7 separate regions of the Homo sapiens genome follow, and all the other regions are linked to region 1. Evidence: promoter capture Hi-C in 16 types of primary human blood cells and fetal thymus (Javierre and others, 2016). All regions are on one chromosome and are shown on one strand. The core of a region is centred on a gene start or on the middle of the fragment in contact, and the rest is flanking DNA. Distances in the headings are between cores, read along the strand shown.

Region 1 (2,883 bases), core at 233-2,732:
TTGCATGTCAAGGCAGAGGGCACCACACTTCACCCAGCCAAGGCTGGACTTGAGTAGGGGTGCAGGTGTTGGCAATTCATCAGTCACACAAGCTATGTCGTCTTGCAAAGGTGCATAGAGATTTTTAACAAGGGCTTTCGAATTCTTTGAAGAAAACACAGACAATTTTGCTGGGGAGGAAATGCTCCATATTCCACGTGGAAGCAAACTCATAAATTCTGACTGCAGGTTGGTGTTCAGCACAACTTGGAATAATCTAACTTTTCACATAAAACACAATCCCCAAGCTGCAAGATAATGTCTCCGCGAATGGCACCAAGCACCACCTTTTCAAGCCCTCATCAGCACTGGAAGTGGGTCGGACACCCCCAAACCATCACCACCCCCCCACAGGAAGTGAGGGTGTCCCCCCTCCCCAGGACGGCCTTCCTCCCCTCCCCCAACCGGAAGTTGAGGCGCCCCCATTCAGCCGGCCTCCAACTGAGACAAACCAGTACCACCACCACCAAAAGAGGGGTGATCTTCAAGGGGTGAAGGGCATCTCGACTGGGGCCACCCCCAAGCTCGCCTTGCTTACTGACCTGCTGACGACAGGGGCAGGAAGGGGCCTAGGGCCAAAAGAAAGTCCCTTCCACAGAGGACAATTCCCTCAGCCCCTCTCAATCGCCTTCACTTCACGCACTCGTCGTCTCACAGCTGGACAAAAATTCTTCCGCAGCACTTTATTTTGGTGTCCTTTCCTTTTCTTTACCTAATCTCTTAACCACCTTTCCACAGGTAACTCCTCTTACCGCATAGCATTTACAATTGCTCCGGTGAGAAGAAAAATGAAATATTTTCCACGGTACCTTCACAAAAATGAAGGGATTATTTTGCCCCAATGCGGCGAAGGACTACGTGGTTACGCAAGGTGAGCCTTATTTTCGTGGAGGTTTCTGGGAGATGTAGTTTTTTTTTTTTTATTGCGAAGGCCCGCAGAAAGTAGAAGAACTGAAATTGGTCATGACTACATATTAGCGTCCTCGAAAACATATTCTGTATTCGATGACGGCTGACCTAGCGGGCCCCGACGCCCAAATGGGCCCAGACTCCCCTGGTCTTTTCCTCTGCGGCTTAATCGAACCCAAATTTTCCCTCACGCGGGCCCAAGGTCTCGGCAGCCCCGCCCCTTGTCTTAGCCCCGCCCTCCGCAGCCAATCAGGCACCCTTTAGGTCTCGTCCTCTGGAGGTTGGAAGGCAGAGAGGAGGGGCCTGGCGGTGACTCCTCCCGCTGGGGCTGAGGGAGACCTGGGAGACGACCGGGGCCCGTGAGCGCGCGCGTGCTCACGGCTCCAGGAGCGCGGCGAGCGGGCGAGGGCGCGCGCGGAGGGGCGGCGCGCGGGGCCGAGAGGAGGCGGGCAGGCTGGTGGGCTGGGCGGGCGGCGAGCGGCCGGGAGCGCGCGGTGGACTCGGCCGCGGCGAGTAGTTAGTTAGTTGTTGTTAGTCAGTGTCAGTTGCTCGGCGGCGGCGGCCGTGGTCACCAGGAAGGGGACGGGACGGACGGTGATGGTGGTCGCCGCGGCGGCGTGTGCGCCCCTCAGGTAACAGCGGCCCGGCTGTCCGCGTCCGCTCGGTTGTCTTCTACTCACGCGCCGTCTGTGGGACCAGGGTTGCCGCGGGTTGAGGGCGCTGACCCGGGGGAATCCGGGCGGGGCGGCGCGGGTTCTGGGTGGCGGCGCGGGTTCTGGGTGGCGCCGCCGCCGGGGCTCTGGCGGCCGGTGCGTCCCGCCCGGCGCGGGCTCTAGCTCCCCGGCCACCCCCGCGCCCCGCCGGTGCCGCGCGCCCCCTGCCGCCCCTGCCCCCTCCCTCGGCGGCGGCCCCGGGAGCGCGACGCCCCCCAGAGGAAGGAAAGTTGGGACCTGCCGCGAGGGACGCCCCCGGGCGCGGCTGGGAGGTTGCGGGGGAAAGTGAAGCCTGGAGGAGCTGGACGCGGGGAGGCCGGGGCAGGAGGGGCTTCTCTGGCTCCTGCCGGGTCCACACGGTCAGCCCGCTCCCGCACCCGGGAGCATCGGCGCAGCCTCGCCGGCAGCGTCGGGACGGAGCCGGGTGGCTCCCTGCCTGCTCCCTTCGCGCCGCGGCTGGGGAGCCCGCGAACGTGTGGGCTGGCGGGGTCGTTTGGGGGTTGTGAGTGGTTCGGCTGCTCAGTTTTTTTCTTTTCTGCCCTTTGACCCATCCGTTCTTGCAACTTTTCTTTCCTCCTTCGATGGGGACTTGCCGTCTGAACCGCGTCTGCCCCCTCCCCTCTCGTCGCATGCACCATCCGTCTGGGAGCTTGATTTCGTTTTTTCCTCCTTTGGCTACGTTAAAGATTGCTGAGAGCACCGGGAGAGACCCTCCTCCCCCGCCTGCCTCTGGCCTGTTAAATGTTACTTTTTGCGATTCGTTGTTTTTTAAAGATCCAAGTTCAGGAATTTGAGAGCTGTGGAATGGAGTTATTGGAAGGCTGACGTTGAGGGGGTAGTGATGAGTTAGAGGAAAACTATGATTTCATCTTTATTGGCCTTGCTATAGAAAACCTAATTGATTTTTTTTCTGCCTCTGTTGAATGTGGTAAGATCATACGTTGAATTAAATACTTAGAGACTTACATAAAAGACTATTTTTAGGTCATTGGATGATGTACGTGAACAGCTTTTCACCTGAATTGGGATTGCCTTGAGGATTCTGTTTTGGGGCCTACTTACTGATTTTTGTTCAGCCACAGCGTCTTTTTTTTTCCCCCGATAAATGAAGTGATGTAGTGATGTGTATAGTCAGAGAACCCATATTGCTCTCTGCAGTGTGGAAGTGAAAAACGTGAATTATCCACCGGGGTAAAACTTTCCATGAGCAATCTTGGATACT
Region 2 (2,883 bases), core at 145-2,644, 450 kb after region 1:
TGGGTTCAAGTGATTCTCCTGCCTCAGCCTTGTGAATAGCTGGGACTACAGGCACGCGCCACCATACCCGGCTAATTTTTGTATTTTTTTAGTACAGACAGGGTTTCACCATGTTGGCCAGGCTAGTCTCCAATTCCTGGCCTCAAGTCATCCACCCACCTCAGTCTCCCAAAGCGCTGGGATTACAGATGTGAGCCACCACGGCAGGCTTGCCTTTTGTATTTTGATCTGAGTTCATTTTAGATGCAAATCCTGTACATCCTTATTTCACAGAGTTTTTCTATATTACCAATGTGGTCAAGACTCTCCCCTGCTTAAAACCCATCAACAGTTTTTGATCATTCATAGGATAAAGTCCAAATTCAGCTTGACAGACAGCACCCACCAGACCTGCCTGGCCCCTCATATTGGTCTATCTTCTTGTCAGAGGCATTCGAACCAGAGCGACTCCATTTTGAGTAAGGGCTAGGAAAATGGGGCTGGGAATTGCTGGGCTGCATTCTCAGAAAGTCAGGCATTCCTGGCCTCTAGATATTTACAGTTAAGGGAAAAAATTAATAATGTTTACTAAACAGACCCAGACGGGAATGTCCAGATATCCTGATATCTGGAGAACACAGGCATTCCTAATTTTGCTTTAAAGATAATAATATCAATTCTTGCAAAATATCATAATTAAGAAAATTAATCCTTTATCACAAACCCTTGTAGCAGAGCACATCTCTCCATATATACAAGCATTGTACCCAGGGTGGACGCCTTCCTCCTCTTACTTTCGGGAACGTCCTGCTCTGTCTATGGAGTAGCCGTCCTTTCACCACTTTACCTTCTTAATAAACTTGCTTTTACATTGCACTGCGGACTTACCCTGAATTATTTCTTGTGCAAGATCCAAGAACCCTCTCTTGGGGTCTGGATCAGGATGCCTTTCCTATAACATTCTGGCCCTCTCTACCCAGCACCTCTCATGCCCCTCTCTACCAAGGAGGAAGCCCACACTTCCCTGACTCTGGGCTGCCCACACATGCTCTACTCTCTGCTTAGAAGGCTTGGTATCCTTCTTTTCTTCACCTGGCTAACTGTATAGCCTGTGTGAACTTATCAGTGTCAATTCACGGATTTCCAGGCTGTGATTTTCTTTCTTTCTTTTTTCTTTTCTTTTCTTTTTTTTTTTTTTTTTAAAGAAGATGAGGCCTTTAGAACCTGGGCTGTGATTTTCTTATGTCCATCTCCTCCTCACTGATGGCACCTTCAGAGCTGGGGCTGACTTAATATCCTCAATGGCTGGGCACAGTGACTCATGCCTGTAATCACAGTGCTTTGGAAGGCCCAGGCAGGAGAATTACTTGAGCTCAGGCATTTGAGATCAGCCTGGGTGACATAGCAAAACCCCATCTCTACAAAAAATTAAAAAATTAGCCAGGTGTGGTGGCTGCTTCTGTAGTTCCAGCTACTTGGGAGGCTGAGGTGGGAGGATCTCTTGAGCCCAGGAGTTCAAGGCAGCAGTGAGCTAAGATGGCACTACTGCGCTCCAGCCTGGGAAACAGAGCAAGACCCAGTTTTATACATTTTATATACATATATATTATATATATATATACACACACACACATACATATACATATATATTTTATATATAGGTATATTATATAGGTATATTAAATACACATATATAGGTATATTATATAATACCTATATATAGGTATTATACATATACATATATATGTATCTCCCCAGTGACCAGCAGAATCCCAGTGGCTCTGTGGGCTCAGTAAATGTTTGTGGAATTAATGAATACTTGTCTTGCCTTTCCTTTCAAATAAACAAAAACAGCTCCAGGTTACAGCTGTGTCTCTTGCCAACCAGAGAAGCAGCTGCACTATAACGAAATCTCCTTGGTGTTATTCTTTTTGTTATCCTTCTGAAGGGAAAACATTTTACTCTTGTTAGGTGTTTATGAGAAAGACTGGAGCTATCATCATTGTGGGGGTGGGGAGGGGGTGAGGAGGGGGTGAGGAGGAGACTTTCTAATCCAGAAACTCAAGTAGTCCAAGAATTTTATGACAAAGTTCTGGTTCTGTTGGAAAAAACAGACTCAGAGCCAGCAAGTCTGGGCAGACAAAGGCAGGCCCTGGCTGGCGGCCCTCCCCTCTGTGGCAAGTCCATGGGCCTTCTCACATTTGGCCCCTTTAGAGTCTGGGAAGTCCCCCAGGTTCACCTCTGAAATCCCACCACCAGGGCAGGCTCTGACAGTCTCCTAGGCTACCTTCAAGACAGGTTTCCCCCAGCATGGCAAAACCAATTCTACCCCTGCCCTTCCCATTGGCGCAGGCTTTGGGGCTCCCTGCCTTTTCTCCTGTCTGCACCAAAGGTGGTGAAAGGCTTGGTTAAACTCAAATTGCAGCCTCTGCCATCTGCTGCCCCTGCAATCCTTGACCCCAGCATGGAAAGCCCTCACCGTGTGCCATCCCTGGAGAGGGGCATGTGAGGTATGTGGCTGCAGCAGTGCACACACTCACGTCTTTCCCCTTCCCCATAAACATCACCACCTTGGTGACACCACATCCAAGGAAGTGTGTGGGCAGCTCAGGAAAAGCCTGGGAGGGGAGCAGAAGTTCCGGTTTGGAAAATTCTCAAAGAACCACAGAATCAAAGGAGCTCCTGTCGGAAAGGACTTGATATGCACCCAGGATATTCCAAAGAGGTGTCCACATGGGAGGGCTCCAGATCCCTATTCCAGGGATCACCAAAGAGGCCCCGCTTTGTTTTATAAATTGTGGTACCATGGTGTATTATCTCATTCGAAGAAAGAGTTCTGCTTTAAAACATGATTTTAAAGTCTGCAAAATATTGACCCTGGTGCAGTTTCTTGCCTGATACAAG
Region 3 (2,883 bases), core at 179-2,678, 430 kb after region 1:
CTCTTCAAAACTTCAACTCCCATTATGCCTCTCTCAATTTCTGATACTGCTTCCTGGACCATCTTTCAATTCCTCCATTCTGCCTCATTCTCTTCTTTCCCGGGTCCTTCACACATGATCACCCCTCTGCCTGGAAGCTTCTTCCCGTTCCATCCTAGACCCTGCCTTGGCCCAGCTAACTACTCCTTATCCCTTGGCCCTCTTATCAAATGTCACCTCTTCAGGAAAGCCTTTCCTGACCAATAAATGGATGGACAAATGGACAAAATGCAGGCAAGATGGAAAGCAAATAAACATCTTTTTTCTTTTTTCCTTTTTTTTTTTTTTTTTTTTTGGGACAGTGTCTCGCTCTGTCGCCCAGGCTGGAGTGCAGTGACACAGTCTTGGCTCACTGCAGACTCTGCCTCCCAGGTTCAAGCAGTTCTCCCAGCCTCAGCCTCCCAAGTAGCTGGGATTACAGGCATGCACCATCATGCTTGGCTAATTTTTATATTTTTAGTAGAGACAGGGTTTCACAGTGTTGGCCAGGCTGGTCTCAAACTCCTGACCTCAGGTGATCTGCCTGCCTTGGCCTCCCAAACTGCTGGGATTATAGGTGTGAGCCACTGCACCTGGCCGAATAAACACCATTTTGAAGGAAGTTCAGCCAAGTTCTCAGGGGCTGGAAGAGAAGACGTTGTTGGGGGAATAGCTCTCAGAGGTGAGGCTGACACCAAGCTGGAGGGCGGGACTGCACTCTGAGGGTCCTAAGATTCTAATTTGTTATCCAGGAAGAATCTAAAGCGAGAGCTTCCAGCCTTCTGAAGAGGGGCAGGGGCTGGAAAGAAGAGGGAGAGAAGGAGGGTCTGAAAGCTCTTTGGTGACATTCGAAGAGCCAGGAGGCCCTTGCCATGAATTTCATTTGGAGATGGCATTGCCACTGGTCCAAGGGGTAGGGCAAGTGACGCACGCTTCTCCCTTCTGCAGGGGAGCATCTGTCCTGCAGGAGTAATTCTCAACCTGCCATCAGCTTATGGCCAGAAGGGCATTCATGAGTCGGCCATTTAGACCTCGGTGGATGCACTGTCATGACGCTGCCCATGGCTGTAGGGTTGTGCACCCATCCCATGGCTGAAGTGGGATGTTCCAGCACCTGGCCATGATGGTTCACTATTGCTGGGGGAAATACCTGTAGGGTCCCTCCAGGTGGCCAGAGGCACATGCCTACTGTACTGGGGCAACCACTGTCCACCCCACTTACCCTGTCCCAGATTGGAACAAGCTCCACTGCAGCACACCCACCAGCACTGACTGAGCCTTCCTGTCTGGGAACATGCAAATGAACAAGCTCAGCCCCTGCCAGTCTGGTGAGGGAGGCAGCCTAGGAAGGGAAAATGTGCTGTGCGCAGACAACAGAGAAAGGCTGTTGAGGAGCCTGGCCTGGGAAGTCCTCCCAAAGGAGGGGAGCTGGGTCTTGATTAATGGGAAAGAGCTCACCCGTGAGGCAGGAAGGGAGTTCCAGAATAACGCTAATAGTCTACTAGGGCTGTGCTGCATCAGGCTCTGCTGTAAGCACTTCCCATGCCTTATGTATCACTTAATCTTCCCAACAACAGTGTGAGGCATTACGGCCACATTCAACAGATAAGGAACCTGAGGCTTAGACAGGTCAGTTAACTTTTCGGAGTCCCATCGCTAAAAAGGGTCTTTCCTCCCCAGAGTGTGGGGCTGGCAGTGAGGGGCCAGGGCCTGGGGCAGAAACAGGATGAGGAAGAAGGGAAAAGCAAGTCCCCACTGAGGAGGAAGTGCAGAGCCCATGCGGGGTGGGGGTGTGGCGCTCAGATGGAGGCTCCTCTCCTCTGACTCCAGGAAATATCCTTGCCCCAGAGTCCTCCACTGGGGCTGAGGGTGTGGCCTTTGGCCTTCAGGATGTGATACAGTTTGTTTTTCAGTTTGCCCCCAGGGACAGCAGTTGCAAAAACTAAGGCCTCTTCCCACTCACACAGCTCGCCTGAGTTGACGAGGAGCTTTCAGGTTTACTAATTTGCAGCCACAAGAGTGTGACTCTGAGTTTCCAAGCATTATCAGTCGTCAGAAGCCGAGTGCCGGTCAGGATTCTTGAAAGACAGCAAAGAGGTGCAAAGTGGCCCTTCGGGAGGTGGCCCAGGAACTGGTGGGCATGGGGAAGGGGCCTCAGTGAGTCCCAGGAATCCACTGCCACCCGATCACTGGTCAGAGGACGGAGGACTGCAGTGATGGAAGAGCCTGCAGGGACTATCTGGAGGTGCTCAAACAGCACAAAGTGTGCCTACCAGAAGTGGGACTTTGTTAAAAAAAAAAAAAAAAAAAAAAGCAAAAGGCCAAGTCCCAACCTTGGCCTACTGACTGGGTGGGGCCAGGGAGTATAGATTTTAGGTTTCGTAAGTGAGTCAGTCATACACCTTGGAGGAGAACTCCTGCTATTGCCTTACTTTCTCATTTTACAAATGGGAAACTGAGGCCCAATAAGTGGGGTAGCAGGGCCCAGAGGGGGACCAGTAGAATGATCTCACTGACAGGGAAGGAAAGGCATAACCATCTCCCACCCCCCAACCCCTTTTCTAGCCTGTTTTGTTTTGTTTCCATTATGGCAGCTGTCTCTCAAAACAGCTTCAAAAATGTGTTTCTAGCATCCTCTCCCCCCTTGGGTTGGTTTTAATTCAGGTGGAAAATGACTTGTTCACAGTAAAGCAAAGCTTGATTTCAGCCCAGCTGGTGTTTAATTTTCCCTGAAAACCTAGGATTCAGAGGCAGGAGACCCCAACTTCAGTCTTGGCTGGGCCGGAAAATCAATAGGCAGAGACATGTGGTGGGCCCGTGTGCAGGCAAAGGGAGCAGCATGTGCTGAGGCTCGGAGTAGGGAAG
Region 4 (2,883 bases), core at 1-2,500, 380 kb after region 1:
TAAATGCGGCATGTCTCCCAGGGTGGGCAGGGGCAGCCCCTTGGGGACACAGGATGGGGGTAACCCAACGGACCGGGCCTCCCATCCCCCTCAGTTTGTCATCATAGTTCTCCCCCAACCTGGGTTTCTTCCCAGCCTCACCTCCCCTCTCCCATTCTGGAGACGCAGTGACTGGAGCATGTCAGGGGTCACGGGTGCTCATCATACCCCAAGCCCAGGGCACACTCATGCCTAAGCTTACCACAAGCCTCCCCTTTGCGGTCCCCAGCCCCAGCTAGCCACTGCCATCCAAGTACCCCATCACTCTCCTGGCCTGGCTTCCCTGCCTCCCCGAGCCCTGGCCTCATCAGTGGAGTCCACACCCAGCCTGCCTGGCTATGTGGGGGTGCTTGGCCTCAGTCCAGGTGGATGTGAGGTCTGGCTATGCATTCTTCCCCTCAAGCAGGGAGCAGAAAGGACTCTCATAGCTGCCCTGTGGCTGCCTTGGTTCATCCTCACCCTATGGACATCAGAAAATCAATCCTGGCACGATAGCAAGACTCATTCTGGCCACAGTTTTCCACACCCATGGCCACGAAGGACAGGGCCCTGACCCAAAGGCACAGAGCCTGGCCCTCAAGCTATGACCTGCAGGCAGCTCCAGGCTCTGCCAGCTCCCCGCACGTGTGCACCACTCAGCGCCCAGCCTGTGTGGACGGCATAGGTACATGTGCTCCACGTGTGTGCTGTGTACAGGCCCGGGCAGACACAGGCCTGCTGCACACCAGCTTCCAGTCAGTACATGCACACTGAGGCCCCGCAAGCCCTGGGTGCTGTTCTCAGAGCTCACATCCAAGCACACTCCCAGGTACCCTTGCTAGTGTGGACACACTCGGGCACACGTGCCCTCCTGAGGAGGAGAGGATGCTCGAAGATGAGTGAAACCATGAGGAGAGATGAGGACGCAAGGCACTGGATGGGAGAGGGAGCTCTCAGGTGCAGGGGAGGTGGCACAGGTGGGTTTGGGGTATAGAGGCCTCACCTGCGCTGTATAATCGTAGAGCGCCCGGTACTCCTGGGCTGGTGAGGCCGGGTTTCCCTGTATCTCCTGCACTGCGATGGCTGTGTAGACACCCTCATTCCGCTCGGGGGTGGGGGTCAGGGTCTCTGTGGACGCTAAGAGCAGGGTGAGACATAGACCCCTCCCCTTCTGGGGACACTGGCCCCTGGAAGTCCTACTAGAATGGGGTTTCTCCATGCTGGGCCCTGCCTCTTCCTTCTGCTGTCCACACTTGCTGTTGGGGGACACACACTTCCTCTTGAGGGCCTCAGTGGCCCCATCTGTGCCATGTGGGAGACCTCTCCTCCCCCCCAGGATCAGTGTGTTTGGGGGTCCCCTCCTGACCCCCTTTACCAGCAGAAGCTGCCAACGAAGTGGTCTTGGGACTTCCGTGCAGCAGTCCAGAGAACCTGGGAACAGGGAGGAAAGAGGGTGAGTGTCCCCGCCCCACACTCAGGGACCCACCAGGAGGGAGGGTTTAGACAGGGAGAGGTCTCAGAGCTGCACGCGCTCTGCCAGGGCTGGGACTGCCCCTAGCCTCCAGGCATGGATGTCATTTATGAGGTGCCCCTCAGGCAGGAGGGCTCCCCAGAAAGTAGTCCTGGTGGCTCCTCCTTCCCCAGCTACGCCCTCCACTGGCGCCCTCTGCAGGCCATCTCAGCACCTGCTCCCTGCAGGGCCCTTGGGAGGATCCTAGAACCCCCGAAGCTGTAGCTTCATTGGAAGACTCCCATGGCCCTTTGGGGGTTCTAGGACCTCCGCACTGAGGCCTCGTGGGAAGATGCCCAGTCCTCACCCTCCAGGCCCCTGCTCTAGCTTGCCCTAGCAGCTTCCCCCATGGGTAGGGGTGGGGGGTGCACTGCCACACAAAGCCTGGCTCACGTGCCCTGCTGAGGCCTCCACTGCCTGGGCCGAGCCAGCCCTCCTCCCTGTGGGCCCACGGTGATCAGGCCAGCTCAGCCACCCTGTTCACAGGAGTTCCGGGACAGCGCTGGGCTACTTTACCCCTGCCCCTGCACCAGGCTTAGGCCTGGACTGAGCTGGGGTCATGAAGGTTTACTGAATAAAGGAAAATAAAACAGAAGAGGCAGATGCGGCAGATGCTGGGGGCACCCCCTGAAGTGGGCAGTAGTGAGGGCTCAACAAGTAGAGGCTGACACTGCCTCCAAGGCAAGAGGGCTTCTTAGTGGGGTGGGGCTGAGTCTTCAAAGATGAGTGAAGCTTTACTAGGAGAGAAGGGGGAGCGAGGCACTGCAGGTGACCAGGAGAGGGAGGGCTCAGGTGCAGGGGAGGAGGCATGGCACAGGTGGGGTTTGTGGAGTGGAGTGGACCAATTTGGGTGTGTGGGGGACAGGACTGAAATAGAGACTGGACCAGACCCTGAGGGATCTTGAATGCAGGTGAGGGGCTGAGCCATGACTCAGGGGCCTGTGGGGGGCAGCCCTGCAATTCAAGGTGGCATGTGGGGGGCCTTTCCCACATGAGGCGCCGAGGGCCAAGGCCCCAGGAGTGCACACACATGCGCAGGGTGGACATGCGTGGACCCAGCACATGGGAGGGCCTGACACCAACACAGGCGGGCAGACACACGTGCCAGCTCCCCAGGCAGCAAAGGACAGGGTGCAAGCCAGCAGGGGCTGGGGACAGGTGGAGGAAGCGGCCAGGGCAGGGGGAAAGGGGTGCAGGGCTTGCTGAGCCATTGTGCTGCGTGCCCCCACACCTCTTTTCCCCAGACTGTCTACACTTCTGACTCCCAGTCACTGACCCCCGCCTCTTCCCAGTCCTGCCTGGCTTCTAGATGCCCCATCCAGAGGCCTGACCAGCCCCCTCCAGCAGCCAGGCCT
Region 5 (2,883 bases), core at 159-2,658, 370 kb after region 1:
TTGCAATACATTGAACAGTAGCTTTTTCATAAAGTGCCATTTCTAAGGACTGATTTTTTTAAACCTGCCGATTACTTTTGCACATTTAGCCAACTCTAAACGTTGAATAAATAAAATGGAAATAATGTTGGCATTTGTCCTAAAAGTATCTTACAGGAGCTTCAGAGTTACTTTGTTTTACCTCCTTTAGGAAAGGAAAATGAGTAACTTATTTGTAAAAGGAAGGCATCCATTTATAATTTAGGACATCTATCCCAAGCCTCAACTTTTCTCCCTTTTGAATACATTGTTAGCCTGCCATTTTGCACACAATCTTCTCTTTGAATGCTTGAATGTATGTGGTATATGTCTGAATTTTTACCTGTCACTTTTCTCCCTCCTGCCTTCATCTATATCTATATGAAGATGAAGGCAGGAAGGGAGAAAACTTTACAGGAAATTCATAGATATCTGGCAACTTGCAAACATTTCATTTAAGTATTTTAGTAGGAGCCTTGACTAATGTTACTTTTACTAGTATTTTTGAGGGACTGAATTCTTTGTTCTGATTCAGGTGGAAAATGAGGTTGATCGCAGCATTCAGAAAGTGTATAAGACCTACAATGGAACCAACCCTGATGCTGCTAGCCGGGCTATTGATTATGTACAGAGACAGGTGAGCTTTCTTGAGGCAGATTTGTTTTTGAGGACCAATCACGATTGGGTCAACATTAAACTAACTGCTATTTCTGTGTAAATTAGCCATGTTTCTTCACATACATGGCTATCCTGATGTGACCAATATTTTTCCCCAACCTTCACCCTTGAAAAGTTTATTTCATCACCTAGCCAGATGAGAAACATCTTGAACTTTTTTTTATCATCTGATTTCCCCTTCCCTGACCCCAGTCTGTACTCTCCCAAAGTACTTAGCCAAAGGGGTGATGACGCAAGAGAGAGGTATGTGTCACAGGAAAGGTGGGAGTCCAGATTGACTCCAGGGGAGGTGGGAGGTCTATATATACCTTTAGAAAACAAGATAAGAAAAGGCAACAGAAAAACTGTCAAAAAAAAGTTGTTATGGACAGTCTGATACACACAAAGGTAGAAAGAATAGTGTAATAGATGTTTGCACCCCGACCTTGCCTCAGTAATATCAACTTTTCGTCAGTCTTATTGCCCCTACTTACTTTTTGCTTCATTATCTTAAAGCAAATCTCAAAATTTTTAAGACCAAATATTTTAAATACTTTGTCATTGGAAATAATATTTAACATGGAACCAGATATTTAACATGTAAGACATGAAGATTTTCCTTAGTTAGAAACTACCGCTTATAGGCAATGTACTTTTCTTTTCTTTTTTTTTTTTTTTTTTTTTTTTTTTTTTTTTTTTTTTTTTTGAGATGGCGAAATTTCACTCTTGTTGCCCAGGCTGGAGTGCAGTGGCGCGATCTTGGCTCACTGCAACCTCCACCTCCCGGGTTCAAGTGATTCTCCTGCCTCAGCCTTTGTATTTTTAGTAGAGACGGGGTTTCACCATGTTGGTCAGGCTGGTCTTGAACTCTTGACCTCAGGTGACTCGCCCATCTCGGCCTCCCAAAGTGCTGGGATTACAGGCGTGAGCCACTGCACCCGGCCTGGCAATGTACTTTTCATATGGAGATTCTGGAGCCACTAGCCATGTCTGGCTGTTTACATTAAAATTTAAAATGCAGTTTTCTAGTCACACTAGCCACAATTTAAGTGCTCAGTAGAGCTTCATGTGGCTAGTGGCTGCTATATTGGATCATGCAGACTTTCCATTATAGAAAGTTGTATCGGACATCACTGGTCTAGAGTAGCTTATTTTAAAGCTCTGTAGTACATGGAACTTCAGGTATTTGGTTTTTGTGAGAAATAATACTTATTCTCTTCTCCTTTAGCTGCATTGTTGTGGAATTCACAACTACTCAGACTGGGAAAATACAGATTGGTTCAAAGAAACCAAAAACCAGAGTGTCCCTCTTAGCTGCTGCAGAGAGACTGCCAGCAATTGTAATGGCAGCCTGGCCCACCCTTCCGACCTCTATGCTGAGGTGAGTCTCTTGGCCACGACTTGAGTCTAGCTTGATTAACCTGTTTTTCACCATGTCTTATCACCATCTGGGACTTCTTTTCTGCCACCTTGCTTGTCTTTAATGTCATATATTGTTTTACTGTAAATTATTATAAAATGCATGTCTTTGTTTTAATTACATGTCTGTAAATTATACCAATCATGGAATCTTTTTTCCACTCTTTCAGTTTCTGTCATTTTCCTTTCTGTAAGTGGGTAGTGGCCTGTGAATCTGCAGCTTTAACTTTTAAAGAACACTTCTAACGAGGATGACTGTGTTTGTTACAGGGGTGTGAGGCTCTAGTAGTGAAGAAGCTACAAGAAATCATGATGCATGTGATCTGGGCCGCACTGGCATTTGCAGCTATTCAGGTAAGCACAGCTTGCCAAGGAGTTCTATCGGAGTGAGTTGGTTCTCTGTTGTCAGCCCTGAATGGTTTTAATCCCCATCACAGTGAATCTTTGTGTATGTAGGTAATGTGGAAGTGACTGAGGTACTGGCCTCCAGTTTCCCATGTTTTCCATTTCTTGTCTATACACCTAGACCCGGAATGGTCTAAAGAAACCAGAAATCTGGATGGGGAGGGACCACGTGTTGAGGGAACTCCTCGTCTTACTGTCTTTCTTGATTAGTGAGTGACCTGTTCAAAACATAAACGAACTGTTGTCTTAGTGTATTCTTGGAAGATATTTTATTAGAATGTCACAAAATTTTTAAAAATTGTACTTCTTTCTTTCAGTTTGGGAATACAAAGCTTTATTCAGTTTTTTTGTATGCTAGTTCTCCCTCTAGTTCTTGTTTTTCTG
Region 6 (2,883 bases), core at 209-2,708, 350 kb after region 1:
CAAAGGCTTCTGCCTGGCGTAGTAGGCTGTTGGTGATCCGGCCTCGCTCACCTCCAGCACACTAGGCTCTCTGTGTTCCCCTTCCTACAGCACAGTGATCATGTTCCGGTCTCTGGGCCTTTGTCCTTGCTGCTCTCATCTTTGGGCTGTTCCCCTCACCTCCCTTGGGTCCCCTCCAATGTTCTCTCCTCAGAGAGGACTCCTCTCATCACTCTATTCCTTTCCTCTGAATTGTTTCCTAACACTACCTCATGTCATATACCCACTTGCCCGTTTGTTTATGGTCTGCCTCCTCTGCCCGAACGAATGTAAGCCATGGAAGGAAGGATACGTCTTGCTCACAGTGGAATATCCACCACCGACAACAGTGAGGCCCAGAGGGGACACGCGGCAAGTTTGATGAGTGAATAAATGGCTGTTGCTGCTGCTTGGTGTAAATGCACAGGATGCTGAGATTAACAGGTACTTCTGAGAGTGCCTGGGAAAGGTGATGAGTGGGGGAGATTGCATGAGAGCGAGCTGATAAAGACCAGTAAATGGAAATCCTTACGGGCGCGGTCAAGGAGGGAGTGCAGGATTATAATGGCAGGAAAGACAGCAAACAGAGGCAGTTTATTGTGTGACTGATGATGTGTTTTTTGCACTAGACCACTTACTATGTGTGGCTCTGGGCGAACTTCTTAACCTTTCTAAGCCTCAATTACCCGATCAGTAAAATGAGGCTGATAACCATAGTGCCTTCCATCCAGGGTTGTGGTGGGGGTTAAATGAACTAATGGAGCCTGGCACCGGGTGAGCACCCAATAATTAATTGCTATGACGGATTCAAGATTGGGGGAAGAATGTGAAATGTTGCAATGCAAAGAGATGTTTCTGTAATCGTTGCGAATCTTGGTCCAAAACTTACTACCCTGGAATAGAACTTGTTCCCAACCACTCACCCACACAAACATGTCTCTGCCTTGCTAACGCCATCACCAGCCTTTTCTCCTCTCTGACTCTTCTGAGGTCTAGCCCAGCGCCTGGTACAATAAGTTTCTCCATAAGTATTTGTTGTTTTTCTTTGCACTTCTCACCAACAGTGCTGCCAAGATTTTAACCTGGTCAGGAGAATCTGGTCAGGCAGAGATTAGTGTCTCCAACCTTCCTAGGGGAGAATGGGCTAGGTAGAAAGATAGCACTCAGAGGGCTCTGAATCATCTATAAGGGTGGCATAGTCATAGGAGGAGAGTGGGTTTGGTCCACCAGAACCTCCCTAGGGAGCCATCTGCGTCCAAGGGCGGCCAGAGGCCAAGAAAAGGCGCTGAGGCCTTGGCTCCTTTAAGAGGCGTGGCCTCACTGCAGCCTCCGCAGAGGCGATTGGCTGAAGCTACCGGCCGCGTGGGGCGGGACTCGGTTGCCAGGGAGCGGCGCGGGAGCCCTGAGGGGACTGCGGCGGCTGCGCGGAGGAGCGAGGCACTTGCTGGGGTCGGGGCTGCGCGACGGCGCAGGGGCTGCGGGGAGCGCCGCGCAGGCCGTGCAGTTCCTAGCGAGGAGGCGCCGCCGCCATTGCCGCTCTCTCGGTGAGCGCAGCCCCGCTCTCCGGGCCGGGCCTTCGCGGGCCACCGGCGCCATGGGCCAGTGCGGCATCACCTCCTCCAAGACCGTGCTGGTCTTTCTCAACCTCATCTTCTGGGTGAGCGGGGCCGGGCAGAGCGAGGGGCCGGCGGCGGGGCCGGGCGAGGCCGCGGCGGAGGCGCCCGTGGGGGCCGGGCTTGGGCCTGGGCGGGCGCGCGGGGGCCGCGCGCGGGCCCTCAGGCGGCTGAGGCGAGGGGAGGGCCGGGTGTGAGGCCGCTTCGCGAGGTCCCTGCCGGACCAAGCCGGGAGCCTGGGCGCGGAGGACAGCGAGGGGAGGCCTTCAGGGACTCCACGGCCTCCAGCCGGCGCCTCCGCGCTCGGCCCACGCGGGCTGGCTCCGTGCCAGGCGCCCCAGTCTCCCCCCCCCGGAGTCGCCGGCTGGACGGAGAGCGCTTATTGCAGACTGTAGCAGGACGTCGGGCTCGAAATAGGATCTTCGCCAGAGGCTCAGGTTCCGCGCTCTTTGTCGGGGCCTCGCAGACGAGTGGCCGTCCCGAGGCGGGCAGATCCGCGGGGACGCTGCGGAGCCGGGGCGGGGGTTCCACTTAACGCCCTTTGTGTGTGGAGAACCGGCTGACTGTCACCAGCCCAGAAAATGAAGGGTTTCAACTCGAGGAGCCAAATAATCCATTGACCAAGAACATCGGTCTATTTGTTTTGGTCATGGGGGTGACCAAACTGTGAGATTATAACTCTTGGTTAAATATATGATGGAGATGTCACAAGATTTTGAAAGTGATGAGTTCACTTTCAATAAAAGGTGGCTTATGAATTTTTAAGGGGTACACCCTCTTTGAAAGGAATGTTTATGTCATCTTAGTTTGGGTCCTTATCTCATCAGGGACTTTTATAGTAACCTAAGTTGTTCCTATCCGTCTCTCCACCCTCCAGCCCATCTGGACTTTGCACCCGGATAAATCTTTTAAAACGTTTCCTCTATCACATCACTTGATCTGAAAATAAGGAAAACAGAAGCTTCAGCGGTAGAATAAGGTTCAACTCCTTCCCCTGGTCTTGGAGCAGAAGTCCTCAGTCTGGTCCCAAATCACCTTGCCTCTCTGAACTTGTCATTTCCTTAAACACTTGAGTGCCCTGGACAGATTGCTCTGTCCACAGTCGCCAGAGCACTCCTTGAACATTCCGGTTAACCATACTGTGCCTCTTCCTCCTCCCCATTCAGCTCCTCCCTCCCACGCATACGCACACCTGTTCTGGAAAGAATCCTTTCCTCCTCCCCCGACCCCCCAACAAGGGATAAAACTTCAT
Region 7 (2,883 bases), core at 200-2,699, 330 kb after region 1:
GGCGGCGTGCACCTGTAGTCCCAGCTTCTTGGGAGGCTGAGACAAGAGAATTGCTTGAACCCGGGAGGTGGAGGTTGCAGTGAGCCCAGATCGCGCCACTGCACTCCAGCCTGGGTGACAGAGCGAGACTCTGTCTCAAAACAAAACAAAACAAAAAACGAAAATATATAAATTAATGATTTAGAAAAATAAAGTAGAACTGATAAAATTAAGCTTTGATTAGACTCTATTGCATCTAAGAAAAAAGAGAAAACACAAATATTTATCATTAGTAAAGGCAAGAGGGATTACACAACTGCAAATACAGAGGCAATTGTATAGATTATAAGCAAATAATATGTGTAACATGATGCTAAAATTTGAAAACTTAGATAAAGCAGATATTATGGATAAAAATGGATATATTTCTAGAAATATGTAAATTACCAAATAGGCTCAATAAGAGATAAAAAGCCTGAGTGGTGGAAGGGTGTGGTGTCTCACTCCTGTAATCCCAACACTTTGGGAGGCCAAGATGGGTGGATGACCTGAGGTCAGGAGTTCGCAACCAGCCTGGCCAACATGATGAAACCCCGTCTCTACTAAAAATACAAAAATTAGCCGGATGTGATGGTGTGCTCCTGTAATCCCAGCTACTTGAAAGGCTGAGGCAGGAGAATTACTTGAACACGGGAGGCAGACATTGCAGTGAACCTAGACTGTGCCACTACACTCCAGCCTGGGCGACAGAAGAAGACTCCGTCTCAAAAAACAGCAACAATAACAACAACAAAACCTGAGTGGCCCTGTTACTAGAGAAGAAATTGAAAAGATCGTTCAGGGTCTACCAACCAAAACACATAAATACCTAGATGACTGAAGGCAAAATCTGACAAACTTTCAACACACTGATAATCTTATTAAACTATATAGAACATAAAGATGGAAATACACTCTTTTGCAAGTCTGCATACCAAAATCTGATACACAAAACACACAAAGGAATTACAGTTCCAAGCAGGAAGGCTGGAGCACACACTGCCGTTGTTGCAGCTGGAAGCGCCAAGCAGTGTTCACTTGGACACATGGGTGGCCTGTCACCCAAACACAGCTGTGGGGATAATTCACCTCCTGTGGTCCTGTCCTCCTGTCACTCAAACTATGCTCCACATCTATGGCTTCAGGGGTGTTCCTTGTGGCCAGTTGACAGAGGAAGATAATAATTGAGTAGAGTTTACCCCAACTGGTTCAGTAAAAGTGCACAGCTGCAGTGTTACTCTCCCACTCAGGAGTGGCCCCAAAAGACAGTGTGGAGAACAAATCCTCTCAGGAGTGGAATTTAGAGCGTTACATCTTGAACACTTTCCCCAAAGGCCAGATGGCCTGAGATATAGATCTACACTGGCTCATGGGCAGTAGGTCATGGTTTTGCTGGACAAACAAGGACTCCAGAACAAGATGCGAGATTGGAGACAGGATGGTTTGGGGAAGAGAATGTGCATGGATCGCTCAGAACTGACCCAGAGGCAATGAGTATTTGTGTGCCATGTGGATTCTCTCCAAAATGTCCTCACTGTGGAGCAAGTTCTCAATAATCAGGTGGACAAGAAGACCCACCCAGTGGATGAGTAAATGTCTATAAGTCTCTTTCCTCGGTCACCCTTGTACCCACTCAGGAATAAAGTAGTTTTGGATGCAGCAGCCACCTATCCAAGTGAGGACCTAATGGCCTCTCCAAAGGTGAAGCAGCCACTGGCACCGATGAGGGTCTAACTTTCAGCAGTAGAAACCAGTTCTGCAAATCTGATATTATACCACAGTGAGGAGGACCAGTTAGCTACTTGATGGAAAGTTAGTTTTACTGGGGCTCCTTCCATCGTGGAGGGGCAGGAACTTGACGTCACTGGAATAACTACTTATATTGGAGTTGAATATGCATCCTGTCTTTACTGTGTTTCCATCAACACCACCATCAGTGGCCTGAATAATGTCCTCCACTCCATCATAGCAACCCATACAACACTGTTTCTGCCCTAGGATCAGGTGTACAGTCAAAGAAATGGAGCAGTGGGTTGATAGTCATGGGATTCACTGGTCTTTTCATACATGTAGGAGCAGCTGGCCCTATAGAAGAGTAGAATGGGCTGTTAAAGGATCAGTCCCAGCCAGGTGCGGTGGCTCACACCTGTAATGATAACACTTTGGGAGGCCGAGGTGGGCAGATCGCCTGAGCTCAGGAGTTTGAGACCAATCTGGGCAACGTGGCGAAACCCCATCTCTACTAAAAATACAAACAATTAGCCAGGCATGGTGGTGTATGCCTGTACACCCAGCCACTCGGGAGGCTGAGGCAGGAGAATCACTTGAACCCAGCAGGCAGAGGTTGCAGTGAGCTGAGATCGCACCACTGCACTCCAGCCTGGGCGACGGAGCGAGACTCTGTCTCAAAAAAAAAAAAAAAAAAGGATCAGTCCCAGCACCCTGGTAGACAACATTTTGTGAATTTGGGACACTGTCCACCAGCGTTTGGTATGTGAGCACAACCAGCAACCAATTTATACTGATCACAGCAATCTTGGCACCAAAGCATGGATGTGGGAATGGTGCCCTTCACTAATAACACCTTTTCAATAAATGCGCTTCTTGTTCCCACAGCTCTGCGCTTGTTGGTTTACAGGTTTTGATATCCAAAGGAGTAAAGCTTCAATGTGAGTAAAACACAATGGCTGCCTAAACAGGAAGTTAATACTGACAGCCCACCACTACGGGCTCTCCATGGTACTGGACAAACAGGCCCAAAGAGAGGTCAAGGCTTTGGCTTCAATGACTGATTTAGACCCGTGCTGCCCAATACTGTGGCCACTAGCCACACGTGGCTATTATATTTAAATTATCTTGAATTAA

The links. Contacts are between HindIII fragments. The CHiCAGO score rates a contact against its expected background, and 5 or more counts as called.
Region 2: a contact is called between a fragment that was not itself captured here and the fragment with the promoter of PEAK1 in region 1, in 1 of 17 cell types (neutrophils). The highest score is 6.8, in neutrophils.
Region 3: a fragment that was not itself captured here is called in contact with the fragment with the promoter of PEAK1 in region 1 in 5 of 17 cell types (neutrophils, monocytes, non-activated CD4 T cells and 2 more); the score reaches 8.2 in neutrophils.
Region 4: a contact is called between a fragment that was not itself captured here and the fragment with the promoter of PEAK1 in region 1, in 1 of 17 cell types (neutrophils). The highest score is 5.9, in neutrophils.
Region 5: a contact is called between a fragment that was not itself captured here and the fragment with the promoter of PEAK1 in region 1, in 2 of 17 cell types (monocytes and neutrophils). The highest score is 6.4, in monocytes.
Region 6: a contact is called between the fragment with the promoter of TSPAN3 here and the fragment with the promoter of PEAK1 in region 1, in 8 of 17 cell types (monocytes, fetal thymus, total B cells and 5 more). The highest score is 9.5, in monocytes.
Region 7: a fragment that was not itself captured here is called in contact with the fragment with the promoter of PEAK1 in region 1 in 4 of 17 cell types (total B cells, naive CD8 T cells, M1 macrophages and 1 more); the score reaches 6.9 in total B cells.

The regions. Positions count from the first base shown.
Region 1 is chr15:77,418,703-77,421,585 of GRCh38, reverse strand. PEAK1 (pseudopodium enriched atypical kinase 1) reads left to right here and starts at 1,482. Exons shown (of 10, transcript NM_001385026.1): 1 at 1,482-1,580. It overlaps HMG20A (high mobility group 20A), which reads right to left and starts at 698. Exons shown (of 10, transcript NM_001304504.2): 1 at 582-698. RefSeq lists enhancers at 197-246, 637-686 and silencers at 1,137-1,456, 1,707-1,876, 1,887-2,096. The HindIII fragment of the contact is 8,449 bases long and covers 1-2,883 here.
Region 2 is chr15:76,966,929-76,969,811 of GRCh38, reverse strand. No RefSeq gene overlaps it. Among named protein-coding and RNA genes, the nearest start is that of PSTPIP1, 27 kb to the left of the region's middle. The HindIII fragment of the contact is 7,590 bases long and covers 1-2,883 here.
Region 3 is chr15:76,987,702-76,990,584 of GRCh38, reverse strand. No RefSeq gene overlaps it. Among named protein-coding and RNA genes, the nearest start is that of PSTPIP1, 6.0 kb to the left of the region's middle. RefSeq lists an enhancer at 2,054-2,213. The HindIII fragment of the contact is 2,577 bases long and covers 140-2,716 here.
Region 4 is chr15:77,034,074-77,036,956 of GRCh38, reverse strand. It overlaps PSTPIP1 (proline-serine-threonine phosphatase interacting protein 1), which reads right to left. Exons shown (of 15, transcript NM_003978.5): 13 at 1,394-1,449; 14 at 1,022-1,155. Among named protein-coding and RNA genes, the nearest start is that of TSPAN3, 36 kb to the left of the region's middle. RefSeq lists enhancers at 1,192-1,827, 1,828-2,465. The HindIII fragment of the contact is 2,024 bases long and covers 239-2,262 here.
Region 5 is chr15:77,051,950-77,054,832 of GRCh38, reverse strand. TSPAN3 (tetraspanin 3) reads left to right here. Exons shown (of 7, transcript NM_005724.6): 4 at 554-655; 5 at 1,904-2,056; 6 at 2,365-2,448. Among named protein-coding and RNA genes, the nearest start is that of TSPAN3, 18 kb to the left of the region's middle. The HindIII fragment of the contact is 2,850 bases long and covers 1-2,833 here.
Region 6 is chr15:77,069,684-77,072,566 of GRCh38, reverse strand. TSPAN3 (tetraspanin 3) reads left to right here and starts at 1,458. Exons shown (of 7, transcript NM_005724.6): 1 at 1,458-1,675. The coding sequence starts at 1,613. RefSeq lists an enhancer at 1,092-1,151 and a silencer at 1,292-1,991. The HindIII fragment of the contact is 12,417 bases long and covers 1-2,594 here.
Region 7 is chr15:77,089,486-77,092,368 of GRCh38, reverse strand. No RefSeq gene overlaps it. Among named protein-coding and RNA genes, the nearest start is that of TSPAN3, 20 kb to the right of the region's middle. The HindIII fragment of the contact is 2,467 bases long and covers 216-2,682 here.